Regions from separate parts of the Homo sapiens genome. Here region 1 is linked to region 2. Evidence: promoter capture Hi-C in 16 types of primary human blood cells and fetal thymus (Javierre and others, 2016). All regions are on one chromosome and are shown on one strand. Each heading gives the region's core, a stretch centred on a gene start or on the middle of the fragment in contact. The rest is flanking DNA. Distances are from core to core; before and after follow the strand shown. Region 1 overlaps CTB-1I21.1 (a long non-coding RNA gene). Region 2 holds the start of TRPC7 (transient receptor potential cation channel subfamily C member 7).

Region 1 (3,449 bases), core at 711-3,210, 390 kb before region 2:
CTCCTCCCAAGACAACAATTTGACCTCATTAAGGAGATATAAAAAGAATATGGCATAAGCTTGGGAAGTAACTTTTGTTCGTTTAGTTAGTTTTCTTTCCAACTTTTATTTTAGGTTCAAGGAATGTGCAGGTTTGTTACATGGGTAAATTGTGTATAGTGGGGGCTTTGTAGACAGATGATTTTGTCACTCAGGTAATCAGCATAATACCCAATTGGTAGTTTTTCAATCCTCACCCCCCTCCTACCCTCCACCCTCAAGTAGGCCTCTTTGTGTCCACGTATACTCAATGTTTAGCTCCCACTTATAAGTGAGAACATGTAGTATTTGGTTTTATGTTCCCGTATTAATTCACTTAAGATAATCACCTCCAGCTTCATCCATGTTGCTGCCAAGAGCATGATTTCATTTTTATGGCTGCATAGTATTCTGTGGTGTATATGCACCACATTTTCTTTATCCAATCCATTATTGATGGGCATTTAGATTGATTCCATGTCTTCGGTATTGTGACTAGTGCTGTGATGAACATGTGTGTGTGTGTCTCTTTATGATAGAATGACTTATATTCCTTTGGGTATGTACCCACTAATGGGATTGCTGTGTCAAATTATAATTCTAAGTTCTCTCAGAAATCTCTAGACTGCTTTCCACTGAATTAATTTACTAATGACTGAAACTAATGACTGAACTAATTTACATTCCCACCAGTAGTATATAAGCATTCCCTTTTCTCCACAACCTTGCCAGCACGTGCTGTTTATTGATTTTATTAATAATAGTTATTCTGACTAGTGTGAGGTGGCATCTCATTGTAGTTTAGATTTGCATTTCCCTAATGATTAGTGATACTGAGCATTTTTTAATATACTTTTTGGCCATGTGTATGTCTCTTTTGAGAAGTGTCTGCTCATGTCATTTGCCCATCTTTAAATGAGGCTGTTTGTTTATTGCTTGTTGATTTATTTAAGTTCCTTATAGATTCTGGATATTAGACACTTGTTGGGGTCTTCTGTGGCTCCACATGAATTTAAGGATTGTTTTGGCCATTCCTTAAAAAATGACATTGGAATTTTGACAGGAATTACATTGAATCTGTAGATTGTTTTGGGTAGTATGGGCATTTTCACATTAATTCTTCCAATTCATGTACATGCGATATCTTCCCATTTATTTCTGTTCTCTTCAATTTCTTTCATCAGTGTTTTACAGGTTCAGTACACAGATCTTTTACCTCCTTGATTAAATTTAGACCTAAGTATTAATTTTTTTGGTTGCTATTGTAAGTGGGATTACTTACTTAATTTGATATTCAGATAGCTTGTTATTAGTATAAGGAAATGTTCCTCATTTTTGTATGTTGATTTTGTAATCTGAAACTTTACTGAATTTATCAGTTTTAACAGATTTTTAGTGAAGCATTTATGTTTTCCATACATAAGATCATGTCATCAGCAAATAGAGATAATTTTACTTCTTCCCTTTCTATTAGAATGTCTCTTGTTTCTTTCTCATGCTTAATTGCTCTGGCTAGAACATCCAATACTATGTTGAAAAGAAGTGGTGAGAGTGGCATCCTTGTCTTGTCCCTGATCGCAGATGAACAGCTTTCAAATTTTCATCGAGAATGATGTTAGCTACGGGTTTGTCATGTATGGGCTTTGTTTTGTTCAGATAATTCCCTGTATACCTAATCTGTTGAGAGTTTTTTCTTAATCATGAAGGAACGTTGAATTTTGTCAAATAGTTTTTATGTATCTGTTGAGATGATCATATAACGTTTATCCTTCATTTCATTAATGTGGTATATTTCATTTATTGATTTGCATATATTGAAGCATCATTGCATCCCAGGGATAAATCCTACTTGTTCATGGTAAATTATTCTTTCAATGTGCTCTTTAATTTAGTTTGCTGATATTTTATTGAGGATTTTACATCTGTGTTCACCAGGGATATTGGCTTGTAATTTTCTTTTCTTGTAGTGTCCTTGTCTGGCCTTGGTAAAAAGGTAATGCTAGCCTTGTAAAACAAGTTCAGAAGTATTCTTTCTACCATGATTTTTTGGGAAGGATTCGTGAAGAATTTGTATTAGTTCTTCTTTAAGTGTTGGAAAGAATCAGTAGTGAAGCTGTCTGATTCTGGGCTTTTCTTTGGTGAGAGATTTTTTTTTTTTTAACTACTGATTCAATCCCTTACTCATGATTTGACCAGAAAATCTGGTCAAATCAGATTTTCTATTTCTTCATTCTTCATTCTTGGTAGGTTGTATGTATCTAGGAATTTATCCATTTGTTCTTGGTTTTACAATTTGTTGGCATATACTTGTTCATATTAGTTTCTTATTATCTATTGTATTTTGGTGGTATCAGTTGTAATGTCTCCTCTTTCATTTGTGATGTTATTTATTTGAGCAGTTATTCTTTTTTTCCTAGTTGGTCTAGCTAAGGGTTTGTCTTTTCTTTTTTAACCTTTTCAAAAAACTAACTTTCAGTTTTATCAATGTTTCTATTGTTTTTCTAGTCTCTATTTCAGTTATTTCTACTCTGATCTTTGCTATGTCCTCTCTTCTGCTCACTTTGGGCTTAGTTTGTTCTTTTACCAATTTATTGAGTTATAACAGTAGATTGTGAATTTTTTTTATATATAGGTATTTGTTGCTATAAATTTTCCTCTTAGGGCTGCTTTTCCTAAGTTTTGGTATGTTGTGTTTTCATTTGTGTTTGTCTCAAGGTATTTTTTATTTCCTTTTTTATTTCTTCTGTGACCTATTAGTGTGCTCCACATCACTAATCATTAGGGAAATGCAAGTCTATTTGCTGATGACATGATCTTATGTATAGAAAACCATAAATGCATCACCAAAAAACTGTTAAAACTGATAAATTCTGTAAAGTTTCAGGTTACAAAATCAACATACAAAAATTAGGAACATTTCCTTATACTAATAACAAGCTATCTGAATAGCAAATTAAGTAAGTAATCCCACTTACAATAGCAACCAAAAAAATTAAATACTTAGGTCTAAATTTAATCAAGGAGGTAAAAGATCTGTGTACTGAAACTGTAACAGAAATATGTGCCACATATTTCTGTATTTTCCAAGATTTCTCCTGTTATTGATTTATAGTTTTATGCCATTGAGATCTGAAATGATACGTGATATGACCTCATTCCTCTTACATGTGTTGAGATTTGTTTTGTGGCCTAAAATATGATCTACCTTGGAAGATGTTCCCTGTGTACTTCAGAAGAGTGTGTATTTTGTTGTTGGATGGAATGTGCTGTATATGTCTGTCAGGTCCATTTGGTCTAAAGTATAATTCAAGACCAATGTTTATTAATTTTCTGTCTAGATAATATGCCCATTGTCCAAAGTGGGGTATTGAGGCACCATACTATAATAGTAACTCATTCTATCTCTCCCTTCAGATTATTTAATAATTGCT
Region 2 (3,593 bases), core at 185-2,684:
CACCCCTTTGTGAGGTCGAGGCAGGAGGATAGCTTTAGCCCAGGATTTCGACACCAGCCTAGGCAACATAGTGGGACAAGGTCTCTACTAAAAAATTAAAAATTAGCCAGGTCTGATGGTATGTGCCTGTATTCCCAGCCACTGTGGAGGGTGAGGCAAGAGGATCACTTGAGCCTGGGAGGTCAAGGCTACAGTGATCCGTGATTGTACCACTGTGAGACCCTGTCTCAAATTTTTAAAAAATTAAAACGAACTTTCAAACTTATCATGCACACCTTAAATGCCAGCTCTTTGGAGTTATTTGTACATGATTTTTCAATTAATTATCACCACGACAATTGGTAAAAGGCATTATAAACCCTATTATTACCAACCATTCACATATGAGAAGACTGAGATTCAATAGGTTAAGTGTTATGTCTAAGGTCACACAGTTAATAAGTGAATCAAAATCCCAAGGTCTTTTCCCACATATCATGTTATCTTCAGAGAAAATACTAGTAGCATATTAACAAACCAATGCAATCTCATTTGGATGTAAAACTAGAATGGTCATGTGTACAATACATTATAAGCAACTCCTTAGCCCTAAGTATTGCAAGTGCACACAGCAACAGTTTTACAGAGTGTCAGTTATTAAGCTGTGAGTTGATTTCAGAAAATAACCACTCTGATTTATTGGTAAGTAACCCAGGTAGATTGTAGAAGCAACTGTGGTTTTTCATACACAGGCAATATTTCAGTTAAGACGGTTTCTTTCCAATGATGTCATTAAAGTACCTCAGTGTTTAAGAATCATAGACCATTTGGTTACATAGCAATTGGTGAGCGTGGGAACTGTTGGGGAAATGGTATTTTGGATTGAGAATTTCGTTTCAAAAAATGGAAAGTTGCAAATGAAAGCTAACCCTTTTAGTCTTGTTACTAATGTGAGACTTGTTCTACACCACTGACCTCTTCCTGATCCTAGATAATGCTAAAAGATCATGAACCAAAATAGTAAAGTTGGAAGATACATCACTCACAGAAGACAAAGTGTGGTGTGGTGATGAGACTTACGGAAGAAAACTACTTCTATCGCTCTTTAGGCTTCTCTGGTTTTAGTTTTCTTCTTAACCCCCTCCCTCTGTAAACACACAGACACAACAGGTAGGAAACCAGCTCATTCCTCATTCCTCATTCCTCATTTGTTTAAACCAATGAATATTCTGCCTCAGAAGTCAGAACATGCTGCCTTATATAACGAGGTGTGTGTGTGTGTGTGTGTGTGTGTGTGTGTGTGTGTGTGTGTGATGTACTATTCTGGGGCAGAGGAAAGGGCAGGTAGAAATCCTGAGGAGCTATGGCAGGAAGAAAGAGTTGCTACCTCCCTTTCAAGCTACGTCGGGGAGAGGGGGTGGGGACTATACCAACCCATCACCACGCCGCATGCCACTCTCACACAGATGCTTCTCCGTCATGTTCTCTGGGAAATTTCCCCCCGATTAGGAAAAGGACGGTAACACGGTTCTGCCTCGGAAGGCGAGTTTTTACCACTGCAACACAAAGAACAGAGGAGCGCGCTTTCACATCGTTGCAACTTAACTCACTTGACCAGCTCTATACTTCAGCACCACGGAGAGCGGTACATCCTTGGCTACCACCCATGGGGAGCCAGCTTCTGGCGACTCAACACCGGATTCCGGTCATCTAGAGGAGGAACAAGCCTGCGTATTACACCCTCAATGTAAGCAGCTATGATGGTTCTTTCATATTGATTTTTTTTTCCAGTAGAGGTTGTGTTCTCGCTAAAATATGTAATTGAACTTTCATTTATCAGCCTTCTTCCTCTAGTGCACTGCTTAGATTTTTAGATGGATCTGAGATCTTTCTTATTTGTTGAGTTGGTAGAAGAAATTTTTTTTTTCTTTTATAGAATGTCTAAGTTTTCAAAGCCATTTAGAAACGGACAACTCATGTCGGTAGCCTATTCCTTTTGTGCTAGAGTAATATAGTTTTATTCCTAGATGAGTGTATAGGTGTTGTCTCTTCTTTCCCTTCACTACTGACAGCTTTCTAATGTATTTATGTGGTTGTATTTATCATAATATAAATATAGGGGTGAGAGAAGGGAGAGGGTTATATTCTAATAAGTAGCCACTGTTAAAGAACTACAGGTGGCAAGAAAGAGATTGTCATTTTTCTTTTCTTCTTGTTGAAAATATGGTCTGAGCTATGTATCTCCTTTAGACATCCATTTCAAAATAACAAATATGCTCCTAATGAAAGAGGTGTAATCTAGGCAGAGCTTTGAAACTCTCATAATCTCCCCTTTAAGTTTGAAGTTGTAAATTCATTTACCTATGATTGAGTAGACACAACCAAAATGCTATTGCTATTAATTATAATTTAGAGGCGTAATGGATTCAGGGTAGACTCAGAAAAGGCAATAATGATTGACCCTGTCTGGTGGCACTCAGTGAATTTTTGCCTCAGAATGCCACCTGCTGGTGGGTCTTATTTCTGAAGCACCGAGTACACATCAAATTTATGAATGAATTCACATTAAATCCAGAATATTCATTATGGATGTGATGCAAACCCAATCTCCAAGATCTTTTTAACAATGACATTGATTCAATTATTTAAAAGCTTACCAAACTTCTATGTCACAATTACCCTTTCATAAATATTTATTTCCAAAAACACTTGCTCCTAAACTTAGGTGCATGTAGACTAGATAACTCCTTTAGGCAGTAATTAACCCAGAAAAAAATCAGAACTATGTGGAGCCTCATTGAGGCTAATTGCAGAATGCATGCGGTATCTTGGATGAGAGCTACCAGGAGCTCTTGCTTAGTAAAGGCAATCAACATTTCCCTCCATATAAATATTAAGCATGTTACTTTTTTTCAGTATTGTCATTTCATAATATAAGGGCCTCTCTTTCTTTCTCAGTAGTAGATGTTTATTTCAGACTCTTATCATAGAGGTCAGTGAAATCATCAAAAGGTTACACATATCTATTTTATTTCAAGAAAAATCTTTTTTAAAAATAAAGCTATCAAAACTTGTTTCAGCTCCACCTGGAGCTATACACAATGAGATATAGACATCCAGTTTCATAACTTCCAACTTCCAAATAGGAAAATAAGGATTTTAAAAGTAAAAAGAAAAATAGAAGCACATACAAAGCACTAGTTATATTTGGATAGGTGGTACCTAGGACAGTTTGAAAAAACTGAGGATAACTTCTTCTCTAAATGATGTTACTTGGTAGAAAATAAATTACTAATAGAAACACTTATTAACATTCAGGAACACTAGATAATATTTTTATTCCAAGATGCAATGGAAAAACCATCCCACATTAGTAGAATTATTTGGAAAGTATATCTTAATATAAAACATTTTAATGAGTAAAAGAAGGATACTTTGCTTGTTTCCTGTAGGATTTAACTGGTGAAATGTATGAACTCGTGTATACCTTGGGGTAGTTAGGTATATATCTTTTTTTTCTTTTATTTAAAGTATATATGTTGTACAAGCAAATTATTATCAGTAGCTTAGATGGGAACTTAAATGCCTTAAACCCACAATTAATATATTTGTAA

What was found. The method cuts DNA at HindIII sites, captures the fragments that hold promoters and counts their contacts. A CHiCAGO score of 5 or more calls a contact.
Region 1: a contact is called between a fragment that was not itself captured here and the fragment with the promoter of TRPC7 in region 2, in 1 of 17 cell types (endothelial precursors). The highest score is 6.9, in endothelial precursors.

What each region holds. Positions count from the first base shown.
Region 1 is chr5:136,758,005-136,761,453 of GRCh38, reverse strand. The region is part of intron 3 of CTB-1I21.1 (a long non-coding RNA gene); the gene reads right to left. Among named protein-coding and RNA genes, the nearest start is that of CTB-1I21.1, 25 kb to the right of the region's middle. The HindIII fragment of the contact is 3,798 bases long and covers 62-3,449 here.
Region 2 is chr5:136,363,386-136,366,978 of GRCh38, reverse strand. It overlaps TRPC7 (transient receptor potential cation channel subfamily C member 7), which reads left to right and starts at 1,434. Exons shown (of 12, transcript NM_020389.3): 1 at 1,434-1,726. The coding sequence starts at 1,725. The HindIII fragment of the contact is 9,012 bases long and covers 1-2,633 here.